3 separate regions of the Homo sapiens genome follow, and all the other regions are linked to region 2. The links are contacts of gene promoters, found by promoter capture Hi-C in human tissues and cell types (Jung and others, 2019). All regions are on one chromosome and are shown on one strand. Each heading gives the region's core, a stretch centred on a gene start or on the middle of the fragment in contact. The rest is flanking DNA. Distances are from core to core; before and after follow the strand shown. Region 1 has its middle 80 kb from the start of SEPHS1. Region 2 holds the start of PRPF18 (pre-mRNA processing factor 18). Region 3 overlaps FRMD4A (FERM domain containing 4A).

Region 1 (4,824 bases), core at 1,330-3,829, 160 kb before region 2:
CATCCAAACTGGAAAAGAAGTCAAACTATCTCTGTGTGCTGATGATATGATTGTATACCTAGAAAACCCCAAAGACTTCTCCAAAATACTTCTAGATTTGATAAATGAATTCAGTAAAGTCTTAGGTTACAAAATTAATGTATACAAATCAGTAGTACTGCTACTCATCAACGGCCAACCTGAGAATCAGATCAAGAACTCAGTCTTTTTCACAATAGCTGCAAAAAACAAAACAAAAACAACCCTAGGGATATACTTAACCAAGAAGATGAAAGTTCTCTACAAGGAGAGCTACAAAATACTGCTGAAGAAATCATAGATGACACAAACAAATGGAAACACATCCCATGCTCATGGATTGGAGAATCAATATCATGAAAATGACCATACTGCCCAGTGCAATCTACATATTCAATGCAATTCATATAAAAATACCAACTTTGTTTTTTCACAGAATTAGAAAAAACAATCCTAAAATTCATATGGCACCAAAAAAGAGCCCAAATAGTTCAAAGCAATCCTAAGCAAAAGAACAAATCTGGAAGCATCATATTACTTTATAAATTATACTACAAGTCTGTAGTTACCAAAACAGCATAGTACAGGTATAAAAGTAGATACATAGACCAATGGAACAGAATGGGAAACCCATAAATAAAGTCAAATACTTACAACCAACTGATCTTCAACAAATCATACAAAAACATAAATTGAAGAAAGGACACTCTATTCAATAAATGATGCTGGGAAAACTTGATAGCCACATGTAGAAGAATAAAGCCAGATCTCTATCTCTCACCATATAAAAAATCAACTCAAGATGGGTTAAAGACTTGAACCTAAGACCTGAAACTACAAAAATTCTAGGAAAAAACCTAGGAAAAACTATTCTGGACATTGGCCTAGGCAAAGAATTTGTGCCTAAGTTCCCAAAAGCAAATGCAATAAAAACAAAAATAAATACATGGGACCTAATTAAACTAAAAACCTTCAGCACAGCAAAAGAAATAATCACCAGAGTAAACAGACAATTCACAGAATGGGAGAAAATATTTGCAAACTATATATCTGACAGAAAACTAGTATCCAGAATCTACAAGGAGCTCAAACAAAGCAGCAAGAAAAAAACCAAATCATCCCATCAAAAAGTAGGTAAATGACATGAATAGACATTTCTCAAAAGAAGATATACAAATGCCCAACAACGAAAAAATGCTCAACATCACTAATCATCAGGGAGATGCAAATTGAAACCACAGTGAGATACCTCCTTACCCAACCAGAATATCCATTATTAAAAAGTCAAAAAGCAATAGATGGTGTGGATGTAGTTAAAAGGGAATGGTTATATCCCGCTGGTGGGAATGTAAATTAGTACAACCTCTGTGGAAAACAGTATAGAGATTTCTGAAAGAACTACAAGCAGATGAACCATTTGATCCGGCAATCCCACTACTGGGTATCAACCTAAAGGAAAAGAAGTCATTATATCAGGAAGACAACAGTATGCATATGTTTATTGTAGTACAATTCACAATTGCAAAGATATGGAATCAACCTAAGTGCCCATCAAGAGATGAGTGGATAAAGAAAATGTAATATACATATACCATAGAATACTACTAAGCAATAAAAAAGAAAGAAAGAATGTCTTTTGCAGCAACTTGGATAGAGCTGAAGGTCATTATTCCAAGTGAAGGAACTTGGGAATGAAAAACCAAATACCACATGTTGTCACTCATAAGTGGAAGCTAAGCTATGGGTATGCAAAGGCATATGCAAAGATATAATGGACATCGAAGACTCAGAAAGAGGGGGTGGGAGGGGGTGAGGGATTGAAAAACTACATATTGGGTACAGTGTACACTACTTGGGTGATGGGTACTAAAATCTCAGACTTGACCACTGTACAATTCATCTATGTAACCAAAAACTACTTGTACCCCTAAAGCTACTGAAATAAAAAAGAAATGCAAATTAAAACCACAATGAGCTGTCACCTCACACCTGTTAGGATGGCTATCATCAAAAAGATCAAAGATAACAAGTGTAGCCAAGGATGCGGAGAAAAGGCAACCCTTGTCCACTGTTGGTGGGAATGTAAATTGGTACAGCCGCTATGGATAACAGTGAGAGGTGAAGCCAGCTGGACTTCCTGGGTGGAGTGGGGACTTGGGGAACTTTCTGTCTTACAAGAGGACTGTAAAACGCACCAATCAGGAACTTTTCTGTCTTACAAGAGGATTGTAAAACGCACCAATCAGCACTCTGTAAAACGCACCAATCAGCACTCTGTAAAATGCACCGATCAGCAGGATTCTAAAAGTAGCCAATTGCGGGGAGGATTGAACAAAGGGCACTCTGATAGGACAGAAAGGGAACATGGGTGGGGACAATAAGGGGAATAAACGCTGGCCACCCCAGCCAGCAGGCAACAACCTTCTGGGGTCCGCTTCCATGCTGTGGAAGCTTTGTCCTTTCACTCTTCACAATAAAACTTGCTACCATTCATTCTTTGGGTCTGTGCCATCTTTAAGAGCTGTAACACTCACCACGAAGGTCCACAGCTCAATTCTTGAAGTCAGCGAGACCACGAACCCACCGACAGGAACCAACTCCAGACACCCCAGTATGGAAGATCCCCCAAAACCTAAAAATAGAACATGATCCAGCAATTCCACTACTGGGTACATATCCAAAGGAATTAAAATCAGTCTGTTGAAGAGATACCTGCACTCTCATATTCATGGCAGCACTATTCACAGCAGCCAAGATGGGAAATCAAGCTAAGTGTCCATCAATGGATAAAGAAAATTTGGTCTATATACACAATGGGGGCATATTCAGCTATTAAAAAGGAAATCCTGTGATTTGTGACAACACAGATGAGTCTGGAGGACACTATGCCAAATAAAATAAACCAGGTACAGAAAGGCAAATACTCTGTGACCTCACTTTTTTTTTTTTTTTTTTTTTTTTTGAGATAGAGTTTCGCTCATCACCCAGGCTGGAGTGCAATGGCAAGACCTCAGCTCACTGCAACCTCCGCCTCCTGGGTTCAAGCGATTGTCCTGGGTCAGCCTCCTGAGTAGCTGGGATTATAGGCATGTGCCACCATGCCCGGCTAATTTTTGTATTTTTAGTGGAGACGGGGTTTCACCATGTTGGCCAGGCTAATCTCGAACTCCTGACCTCAGGTGATCCACCCGCTTTGGCCTCCCAAAGTGCTGGGATTACAGGTGTGAGCCACCTTGCCCGGCCCTGTGTGACCTCACTTCTATGTGGAACCTAAAAATGTTGAATCCTTAGATGTGGAGTAAAATGGTGGTTACCAGGGGCTGGGAGTGGGGGATGGTGGAGTGGGGAGGGAATCAGGTGTTGGTCGAAAGATACGAAGTTGCAGTTACATAGAAAGAATAAGTTTTTGAGATCTATTGCACAGCATGGTGACTGTAGTTAAAGTATAGTATATTTCAAAATTGTTAAGAGAATGTATTTCAAATGTTCTCATCACAGAAAATGATGTGTGTGAGGTGATGAATAGGTAAATTAGCTAGATTTGATCGTTCCGTAATGTACACATATATCAAAGTGTCGCATCATACCCCATAGTTATATACAATTGTTATTTGTCAATTAAATATAAAAAATGTAAAAATATATATTTTAAAAAGATGCTCAGCATTATTAATCACCAGAGAGATGCAAATCACAACCACAGTGAGGTACCACTTCACACTCACTAGGATGGCTATAAGAAAACAAACAATCACAAGTATTAGCAAGTGTGTGGAGACATCAGATCCCTCATACATTGCTGGTAGGAATGTAAAATGGTTCAGATTCTTTGGGAAACAGGTATTTCCCCAAAAAGTTCAATATAGGCCAGGCGTGGTGGCCCACACCTGTGATCCCAGCACTTTGGGAAGCTGAGGCAGGAGGGTGGTCTGAGCCCAGGGGTTTGAGACTAGCCTGGGCAATATAGTCAGACTCAGCCTCTAAAAAAGAAAAAGTTAGCCAGGTGTGGTGTAGTCCCAGCTACTCTGGAGGTTAAGGTGGGAGGATTGCTTGAACCCAGGTGGTTGAGGCTGCAGTGAGGTATGATGGTGCCACTGCATTCCAGCCTGGGTGACAGAGCAAGACCCTGTCTCAAAAAAAAAAAAAAAATTTCAACATAGAGTTACCATATGACCCAGCAATCCCACACCTACCCATATACCCAAGAGAATTGAACATATATGTCTGCACAAAGACTGGTACACAAATGTTTAGAGCAGCATTATTTATAATAGCCCCAAAGTGGAAATAACTCAAAGGTCTATCACTGATAAATGGATAAATAAAATGCAGTCTGTCCATGTAATGGAATATTATTTGGCAATAAGAAGCAATGAAGTGCTGATACCTGCTGTAACATGGGTGAACCCTGAAAACATGCTGAGTGAAAGAGACCAGTCGCACAAGACCACACATTGTATGATTCCATTTATATGAAATGTCCAGAAGAGACCAATCCAAAGGGAGAGAAAGTAATTTGTGGTTGCCTCGGGCTGGGAACGGAGCAATGTTGGTGAGTGACTGCTCAGGGGAGCAGGGTTTCTTCTTGGGGTTAAGAGAATGTTCTGGAATTAGAAGGTGATGGTGGTTGTGCAACTTTGTGAATCAATTAAAAACCAGTGAATTGCATGGCTTAAAGTGGTGAATTTTATGGTATGTGAATTATATCTGAAAAAAGTCAATGAATGCTTAATGCAGAAAATAAGAAAAGAAGGAAACAGAAATTGCAGTTGCAGCATCTGGAGATAATCACTGCAAATGTTTTGA
Region 2 (4,366 bases), core at 655-3,154:
GTTAAAGCGATTCTCCTGCCTCAGCCTCCTGAATAGCTGGGACTACAGGTGTGTGCCACCAAGCCCGGCTATTTTTGTAGTAGAGACAGGGTTTCACCATGTTGGCCAGGCTGGTCTCAAACTCCTGACCTCAGCTGATCCGCCTGCCTTGGCCTCCCAAAGTGCTCGGATTGTAGGCGTGAGCCACTGTGCCCGGCCTCTTTTAAGTATTTCTAAAAGCTCCTGGATATCTTTTTTCCTTCCTTTTGAATGGAAAAGCTTGCTTGTCAGTTGCTTGTTCAAGTATTTCTCTCTATCACTCTTTGATCTCAGGCCTTAATCAGGATTCAGTGCACATGTTTACATAAACGTAGAAATCAATGAAAGTCTAAAATGTAAGGGGAGGCTGTTAACTGTAGCTAGTAACTTCTCTGGTTTACACTGACAGTTTCCCAGGTAGCCAGCCGTTGTGTTCTCTGTAAACTTCCATTGCTGTTACTGTCATCTGTCTTAACCCTTCAGGTTTTTTTTGTGTCTAACAATCCCTAATCCCTAAATCAGGAAAATGCTAATAAATTATTATTTGCTCATTGATTAGTGAGGGAAACCCATATTCATGCAAGAGTGTTGCCATATTTAGTTCAAGGACATTTTCCTGTGTTGGCTTATTTCTGGCAAAAGTCAGGTATATTTTATTTTATTTTGTTTTGTTTTTGAGACAAAGTCTTGCTCTATCACCCAGGCTGGACTGCAGTGGCATGATCCCGGCTCACTGCAACCTCCATCTCCCGGATTCAAGCAATTCTCCTGTCTCAGCCTCCTGAGTAGCTAGGACTATAGGCACCTGCCACCACGCCTGGCTAATTTTTGTATTTTTAGTAGAGACGGGATTTCACCATGCTGGCCAGGCTGGTCTTGAACTCCTGACCTCAGGTGATCTGTCCACCTCGGCCTCCCAAAGTTCTGGGATTACAGGGGTGAGCCACCCCGTCTGGCCTCAGATATCTTTTAGATGAAGTATCACCCCCCACAAAAGACTTTCTAAATTGAAATAATTCAATTGTTCATTTTTTTGTTTTGTAAAGCATTTTACCCATTATCAGCTGACTCAACAAAATGATATTTCTTACCTTTTTTGAGTAAGAAAAACGAAATGTCAAATATTGTTCAATTATGATTTCACAAAAACAATTTTTAAACGTGCTTCAATGACATGAAAAAAATAAGTCCACTGTAAACAAATGTTAGGGACTTAAAAAATCTCTGACATAATTTTTCTCTTCAATTTAACTTTTTTTCCCTTGGGTTGGATTTAAAAAAAAAAAAGGAATTTCTGATTACATCTCCAATCATGTCACTGAAAAATCTTGATTGCTGAACACATGACCAAAAAATGATTAGTTAGCTTGAGGTAAATGTTCAATTATCACCAAGATTGGTAAGCAATCTAAAACAGAGGGAGTGAAGATAAATTGACTTCCAAACTGCTTTAAATGGTTGTAGTCGTTTAAGTTCACAGGAAATTTAACAGGCTAGTAATGAACAGACAGCCCTTTCACTCTATTGTTACAAGTTAGTATTATTGTTTAGATTTTTCTCATCCTTTTGCAAATTTTGCAAGCAAGTAACTTCAGAAACCCTAATGTAAATTTCCAGTTAATAAAGATCTTGATTTAACTGGCATTATTGAGGTGTTCTTCGAGAGGCTTTTGGAACTCAACTAGCAGGTGCAGAGAGTACTACAAAGACCCGGGTTTCCGTCCACGTTCACGTAAACCTCCCTACGAGGGGAAACTACAGGCGCGCTGCCGGAGGGCGCCGCCAGTGGGCACTCACGCACAGCTGCTTTGGCCACCACAGGCGCCCCGGGCCACTCTCTTCCCTCATCTCTCTCATCCCAGCTTCCGCCGGAAGCGGCTCCTGTCAGTTGTTCTCAGGTGTTTGGGCTTGTTGTTCCGTATACTCAGTGGGTTCGCGGCCGCCGGCCCAGTGAGGCTGGGTTCGAGGAGCTGGAGCGGGAAACTGGAGCTTAAATTCTGGCGGCGAGATGGACATTCTGAAATCAGAGATCCTTCGGAAGCGGCAGCTGGTGGAGGACAGGAACCTGCTGGTGGTGAGGACCCTGCGGTCGTGGGGGTCGGGATGTAAGAGTGAGAGTATGTGTGTCGGGGTTTTGGGGTGAGGGTGACGATACTCAGAGGATTCGGGGCGGGGACGGGGCTTAGCGAGTGTCCTGCCACTACCCCTGGTAGGCCCCCTTAGATCCAACCCTTGGCGTCTCACTGTTGAGGCTGGAGAATAGGGTCTGAGAGCAGGGAACTTGAGTACAATTCGTGCTGACTTCCCAAAGCTGGATCAAAAGGAAAACACCTGGGTCTGGGGGCGGGAACCTGAGGCCAATTAACGCCCACGTCCAAAAGCCAAACCAAAAGAAAAATCCTCATCTTCCCACCACCGAGTAGCAAAGGCTTCAGGCTGCGGCTCTCCCCGCATCCCTGCCTTTCCACCACCTCTCAGATGGGAAGGGAACGTGCCCTGCATTGGCCGTGGGCCAATCACGGGCCATCCCTTCATCTGCATAGGGCGCCAGTTCACCTCAGTCTTTAGCCACAGACCGAACCCTTCATCCAGATACGGGGTAGCTGATAGGGACCTCAGAAGGAGTACCTAAAACCCGGAAAACTTTGTAACCGGGGCCTCGAGCCGCTTGCTCGGGCCCACTCACACCCTGTGGAGTGCTTTCTCGCGTTCATAAGTCCCTACTTTTGCTGCTTCATTCCTGTGTTTTGTTACTTTTTTTGTGCGTTTTGTCCAATTCTTTGTTCAAAACGCCAAGGACCCGGGCAACTTACACTCACGGCCTTCTTTCCGGTAACCACTTGGGAGCCTTAGGGATGCAGGTGTGGGAATTGCAGGAAAACCCGAGGCTTTGTTTGTTTTCCCCCGACTGACCCTGTTTCCCTCCAGTTTACCTAACTGCCCCCTATCCCCGCTCCTACCTGTTGGCATTCTGCGGACGTGCCCCAGTGCTCCTGAGAGTTCCCTTCTGTCGCCTTACGAAGGGTTTGTGCCCAACTGAAACATGGAGGAAGGGCCGCCGGGCGCGGTGGCTCACACCTGTAATCCCCACACTTTGGTGGGCAGATCACCTGAGGTCAGGAGTTCGAGACCAGCCTGGCAAACATGGTGAAACCCCGTCTCTACTAAAAACACCAAAATTAGCTGGGCGTGGTGGTGCGCGCCTGTAATCCCAGCTACTCAGGAGGCTGAGGCCAGAGAATCACTTGAACCCGGGAGGCGGAGGTTGCCGTGAGCCGACATCGCACCACTGCACTCCTGCCTGGGCGACAGAGTGAGACACCGTCTCAAAAAAAAAAAAAAATTCCTTCTAGCCAGGTGTGGTGGTGCGCGCGTCTAGTCCCGGCTGCTTGGGAGACCAAGGCGGGAGGATCGCTTGAGCCCAGGAGTTCAGGCTGCAGTGAGCTATCATCGTGCCACTGCACTCCAGCCTGGGTGAGAGACCGAGTCCCTGTCTCTAAAAAAAAAAAAAAAAAAGTAATAAAATTCCTTTCTAATAGTAAATCCCAATTTTTTAAATTCTATTCCTCCTCCTTCTCTCTTCTTCAACACATGAAAAGTCTGTAGGCCTGCTCTTCACTGATGGGAATGCTAAGACTCTTTTGGAAAGGTACTAAAAAGGGGGAGAAAGAATTACATGATTTAGGAACTTCCTGAAGATGATCTCCCTTACTTTATTGTGTAGCAGTAACTTAGACCGCTGGTTCTCAAAGCTTTTGGTCTCAGGACCCCTTCACACTCTTAAAAGTTACTGAAGATCTTGAAGGACTTTTGTTTATGTGTTATTTCTATCCGTATTTACCATATTAGAAGTTAAAACTGAGAAACGTTAAAAATACTCACTGATCGATCATTTGGAAAACATTGGGTTACTGAATTATGCAGGTCTCCCACCTGTTGACACATTTCATTACAAAATATGAAAAGATCACTTCATTTAATATCCACTGATCTGAGAAACATCTGTAAGCATTAGGAAACTGTCAGGCTCCTGATGACAGATCTAAGTTCACCACACTTAATTTCCACTTGGAAGCTGGAATTTTATCATAGGCAACAAATATTATCAGTTATTTTCTTGAAGTGATCTGCTCACTTTGTTCAGTTTGGGGAAGTTGTCTGCCAAATACCCAAGTCTGAAGAACCATGGTTTGCCGGGTGTTCTTAAGTGTAAAAATGGTATTCCGTGAAAAAGCCAGTTTAGCTTGCAACTCAATTACTTTCCTCCACACAACCAGCAAACTTTAGTATAAATGAGAATTGTTGTATGCATCTTTCCTGTTTTGTCACATAATATTAAAAAGATATG
Region 3 (4,457 bases), core at 659-3,158, 150 kb after region 2:
GAGGCTGAGGTAGGAGAATCGCTTGAACCCGGGAGGTGGAGGTTGCAGTGAGCCAAGATCGCACCCTGCACACCAGCCTGGGAGACAAAGCAAGACTCTATCTCAAAAGAAAAAGAAAAAGAAGAAAACATATAACGAGATGTTTTGATTTGTTTGCTTAGGGGAGGTTTGGTAACCTTCACCAAATGAGTCTACTCACCTTCACTGCATAATAGTGAACCCCGTAGGTTGGGAGAGACTCCACGATGCTCATGTAGCTGGAATGACAACACGAAGATACACAAACACACACACAATGCGCAAAAGGCTAGTTATTCAGCAGATCTGGTATCATATATATATTTGTGTATGTGTACGTGATAAAGTTCTCGGAGTGATTATTTACTTGAAAATTAAATGGAAACATACACCCCCCACTCCCAGATATGTCTTTGGAGAGGAACTGAACAATCCTGACATACGATATATTAACACACACAAACACTGTCCCCATGTGAGCTGGGAAGGGGCCACTTACTTTACGATTGCTTGACCTCTTGTCTGACCGTTCAGTTTCTTGTAGTGCTCAATGACTCTGTCTTCACTGTAATTAGAAGAAAAGAATGCTGTTGTTGGAGTCTCTAGGTCAACAGCCAAGCTTCCTGCCAGTAAGATATTTCTCAGCCCCATCTCATAAGAAGCTCCAAGGCACCAACAGCTCCTGGAAAAATGATTTGTCCTGGAGTGGTATTTCCAAACTCGGTCTGAGTGCTATCTATTTGGATGTAGATTTACTTTAAAAAGAGTCTGTTTTCCCCACAAAGGACTTGCATTCTCTTTGTCTTGGATGTTTGTTTTTTTTTTTTTTTTTGAGACGGAGTCTTGCTCTGTCACCCAGGCTAGAGTGCAATGGTGCGATCTTGGTTCACTGCAACCTCCACCTCCCGAGTTCAAGCAATTCTTGTGCCTCAGCCTCCAGAGTAGCTGGGACTACAGGTGCGTGCCACCACACCTGACTGATTTTTGTATTTTTAGTAGAGACAGGGTTTCATCATGTTGGCCAGGCTGGTCTCAAACTCTTAACCTCAAGTGATCCACCCACCTTGGCCTCCCAAAGTACTGGGATTACAGGCGTGAGCCACCATGGCTGGCTTATCTTGGATTTCTAATCAAGAAATATAAGACTGGAGCCCAGGCCGGGTGCAGTGGCTCACCCCTGTAATCCCAGTGTTTAGGGAGGCTGACATGGGGGGATTGCTTGAGCCCAGGAGTTTGAGACCAGCCTGGGCAACACAGTGAGACCTTGTCTCTATACAAAAATACAAAAATTAGCCAGGCATGGTGGGGTATGCCTGCAGTCCCAGCTACTTGGGAGGCTGAGGTGGGAGGATTGCTTGAGCCCAGGAGGTCAAGGCTGCAGTGAGCTACAATTGCACCACTGCATTCCAGCCTGGGTGACAGAGTGAGACCCTGGCTCAAAAACAAAAAACAAAAGAACAAAAAGACTGGAGCCCAGGTTTTGGGATCAGCTCCTTGGAAGAAATGGTACCGTGGGAACAAGAGGAAGCAGACAGCAGAGATGACGCATGAATGCCCGGGCTGAGCTCCCTGGGGCCCTTCTTATCCTCATCTTCCCAGTCCTGTTCACACAGGGCCTCATGGGGGAATGGCAGGCATTGACCTTAACCAAGTGCCCACAGCCTACCTGCTCTGAATGCGTAGTCAGGAATGGAAGGCTTTCCAGGAGGATGGAATGTTCTGGAATTTGGGCTTGGTTAATATGAACCATGAAGCAACAAAAGCCCCATAGGAATGCTTGGAGAACAACAGCAAACCAGCTACCAGAATTAGACAGGCGCTCCCTCCTTTTTTGAAATCTTAGGTGTTTTTGTTTTTGTTTTTGAGACGCAGTCTCCCTTGTCACTCAGGCTGGAGTGCTGTGGAGCGATCTTGGCTCACCGCAACCTCTGCCTCCCAGTTTAAAGCAATTCTTGTGCCTCAGCCTCCTGAGTAGCTGGGATTACAGGTGTGTGTCACCACACCTTGCTAATTTTTGTATTTTTAGTAGAGATGGGGTTTTGCATGTTGGCCAGGCTGGTCTCAAACTCCGGGCCTCAGGTCATCTGCCCACCCCTGCCTCCCAAAGTGCTGGGATTACAGGCGTGAGCCACCGCGCCCAGCTGAAATCCTAGTTCTAATATAACAAGAGGTTAGCTGGCTCCTTGGCAGCAGTGGCAAGCCCGCCTCCTGAGAAGTGACTCTGGTGCCCATGAGGTAGGAGATACGGCCGCTCCCACCCCCGCTTTCGGAAGGGCAGAGCCAACCTGGGGAATCCCAGGGAAGCAGGTGCAGGCAGAAAGCCCCAACCCCACCTGCTGAGGTGTGGAGTCGACACCTCGGTCTCCCTGGTCTGGCCCCAGAGCCTTGGAACCTCAGTTCTCACTCTCAGGTCTTACTCCTCTTCACCCTCCCTGTCCTCTGTCAAAGCTCTGTGAGGGGAGCTGATTCTAGGGGTGTACCCTCGAGATCTCAATAGAGGATCTTTATTATCTATTATTTTTGAGACAAGGTTTTGCTCTCTCGCCCAGACTGGAGTGCAGTGGTATGATCCTGACTCACTGCAACCTCCATCTCCCAAGTTCAAGCAATTATCCTGCCTCAGTCTTCCGAATAGCTGGGATTATAGGTGTGCACCACCACGCCTGGCTAATTTTTGTATTTTTAGTAGAGATGAGGTTTCACCACATTGACCAGGCTGGTCTCAAACTCCTGACCTCAAATAATCTGCCCATCTCAGCCTCCTGAAATGCTGGGATTACAGGTGTGAGTCACTATACCCGGCCCTATTATCTATTATCCATCAGCCCAGGATCTACCTAAAGCCTTCTTTTACCCACCTTTTTGTTTTCAGTTTTAGCAAGGCCAGTGTTGGGGGTAACAGGTTCTACACATTCATCACCTAGTCCTTGGGGGTAATTTATTTCTCTTCCAATGACTACCTTAACCTCCAACTAGTATCTTTTAATTTTAATACTCTGGAATTTGATGCATAGAGGACAGTGAGAGGTCTTGATAAAGAAGGGTCTTTATAAATACCCAGAATGAGGACCAGCCAGCTACAGGGGGCCTTGCCTCAGTTGGAGAGTCACTTCTGTGGGGTCTGGATATCCTCTATTCAGAAAGGGGCAGACCCAGCCATCTCTCTCCTTGGCTCCCACATGCCGAGGAAGTTCTATATCAAGTGTGACAAGGTCGTCTCCTGAAGACGATTCTCGAAAAGCATGCTCCCCAAGGGCAGGCCCAGCCTCACTAATCCTGCAGAACTGCGTCAGGAGGTTCAGCGGCTCCACTTCCTTCCATCCCACTCACTAAATCAACAGCTGCCTTGGCGTGTTTCCTACCACGTGACATGGGGTTTTGTGAAGTCGACTCCTAGATCCAGGGTCAAGCAACTCAGTGTAGATAGGGACCTTTTTCCTTTGCAGCACTAGGGAGAGAGGGTCCCTGGGGTGAGTTCAGGAGGTGCAAGTCAACATAGCACTGTAGCCATGAACACACAGAAGGCTCAGGAGAAACACCAGTGAAAGAAAGTCAAAACCACTGTCAGAAAGCCGCGTCGCTGTTTAACCACGACATGTCCTGACCACAGGGTTCTGGGTGGCCGACAGCAGCAGAAATCTTTGCCGCCCCCTGTTTGCCCTGTAACTCCTGCTCTCTGAGGCCATCTGTGAAGCCACAATAATTGCCTTCTCCATCCTCAGCTTTTCCTGCTTGTTTTGCCCCCTTAAACATGGTGGGCTTATCCTGGAAGAACAGGCTCAATCCTGACCGAGAACCTATTCTGCTCCCAGCCTGTCCCCACCTCTGCTCTGGAACTTGCCAGAGGGCTGAAGTGCTCTGAGCTTTGCAGACAATTTTCCCATACCCTAGATTTGTAGCAGGGACTCAAGGGGATAACTAGCAGAAATCCAGGAAGCAGAGTAAGTGCTGCCTGGAGGACACAGGGTTACATGGAGGAAAAAGGCAAATGATCAAAGCTGCCTGTGCCCAGGTCGCTGGCTGGGTCATGTTGTTAAGTCAAATGACCTCTCAGCAGACAAGGGGATACATGAAATGCATGGGTGATGGAAGGGGAAACAGGGATGGTGATATGATATGGTTCCCCGTCTTGGAGCAGCTGCTGGCCTGCTGTGCTCAGTGGTTTCGGGGTTAAAAATAGATGTCCCTGCATACCTTATTGAGGCGATAGGGGTGGTCAGGTGGTCCAGCATTTACAAACTAGGCCCGCGAGGCAGAATCCAGGTCAGGGTCCTGATCCCTCCTTGTTCTGTGGCCCTGGGCACATCATTCTAACTTTCTGCCTCAGTTGCCTCCTCAACAGGGAAATCGCACGGTGTGAAAAGTCCATGCTTGTTAAATGCATGGGGAGAATTAGCAGAAAGGCTTCTTGCACCATAACTCAGCATTATTATGCTGCT

The links. Contacts are between HindIII fragments. The study calls those that stand out against the background at their distance.
Region 1: a contact is called between a fragment that was not itself captured here and the fragment with the promoter of PRPF18 in region 2, in 1 of the 25 tissues and cell types used here (thymus).
Region 3: a contact is called between a fragment that was not itself captured here and the fragment with the promoter of PRPF18 in region 2, in 1 of the 25 tissues and cell types used here (aorta).

The regions. Positions count from the first base shown.
Region 1 is chr10:13,425,843-13,430,666 of GRCh38, forward strand. No RefSeq gene overlaps it. Among named protein-coding and RNA genes, the nearest start is that of SEPHS1, 80 kb to the left of the region's middle. The HindIII fragment of the contact is 5,427 bases long and covers 1-4,824 here.
Region 2 is chr10:13,585,061-13,589,426 of GRCh38, forward strand. PRPF18 (pre-mRNA processing factor 18) reads left to right here and starts at 1,905. Exons shown (of 10, transcript NM_003675.4): 1 at 1,905-2,092. The coding sequence starts at 2,027. RefSeq lists enhancers at 1,860-2,199, 2,375-2,970. The HindIII fragment of the contact is 7,227 bases long and covers 1-4,291 here.
Region 3 is chr10:13,739,995-13,744,451 of GRCh38, forward strand. It overlaps FRMD4A (FERM domain containing 4A), which reads right to left. Exons shown (of 25, transcript NM_018027.5): 10 at 518-583; 11 at 200-257. Among named protein-coding and RNA genes, the nearest start is that of PRPF18, 160 kb to the left of the region's middle. RefSeq lists a silencer at 375-669 and an enhancer at 3,293-3,532. The HindIII fragment of the contact is 3,959 bases long and covers 1-3,888 here.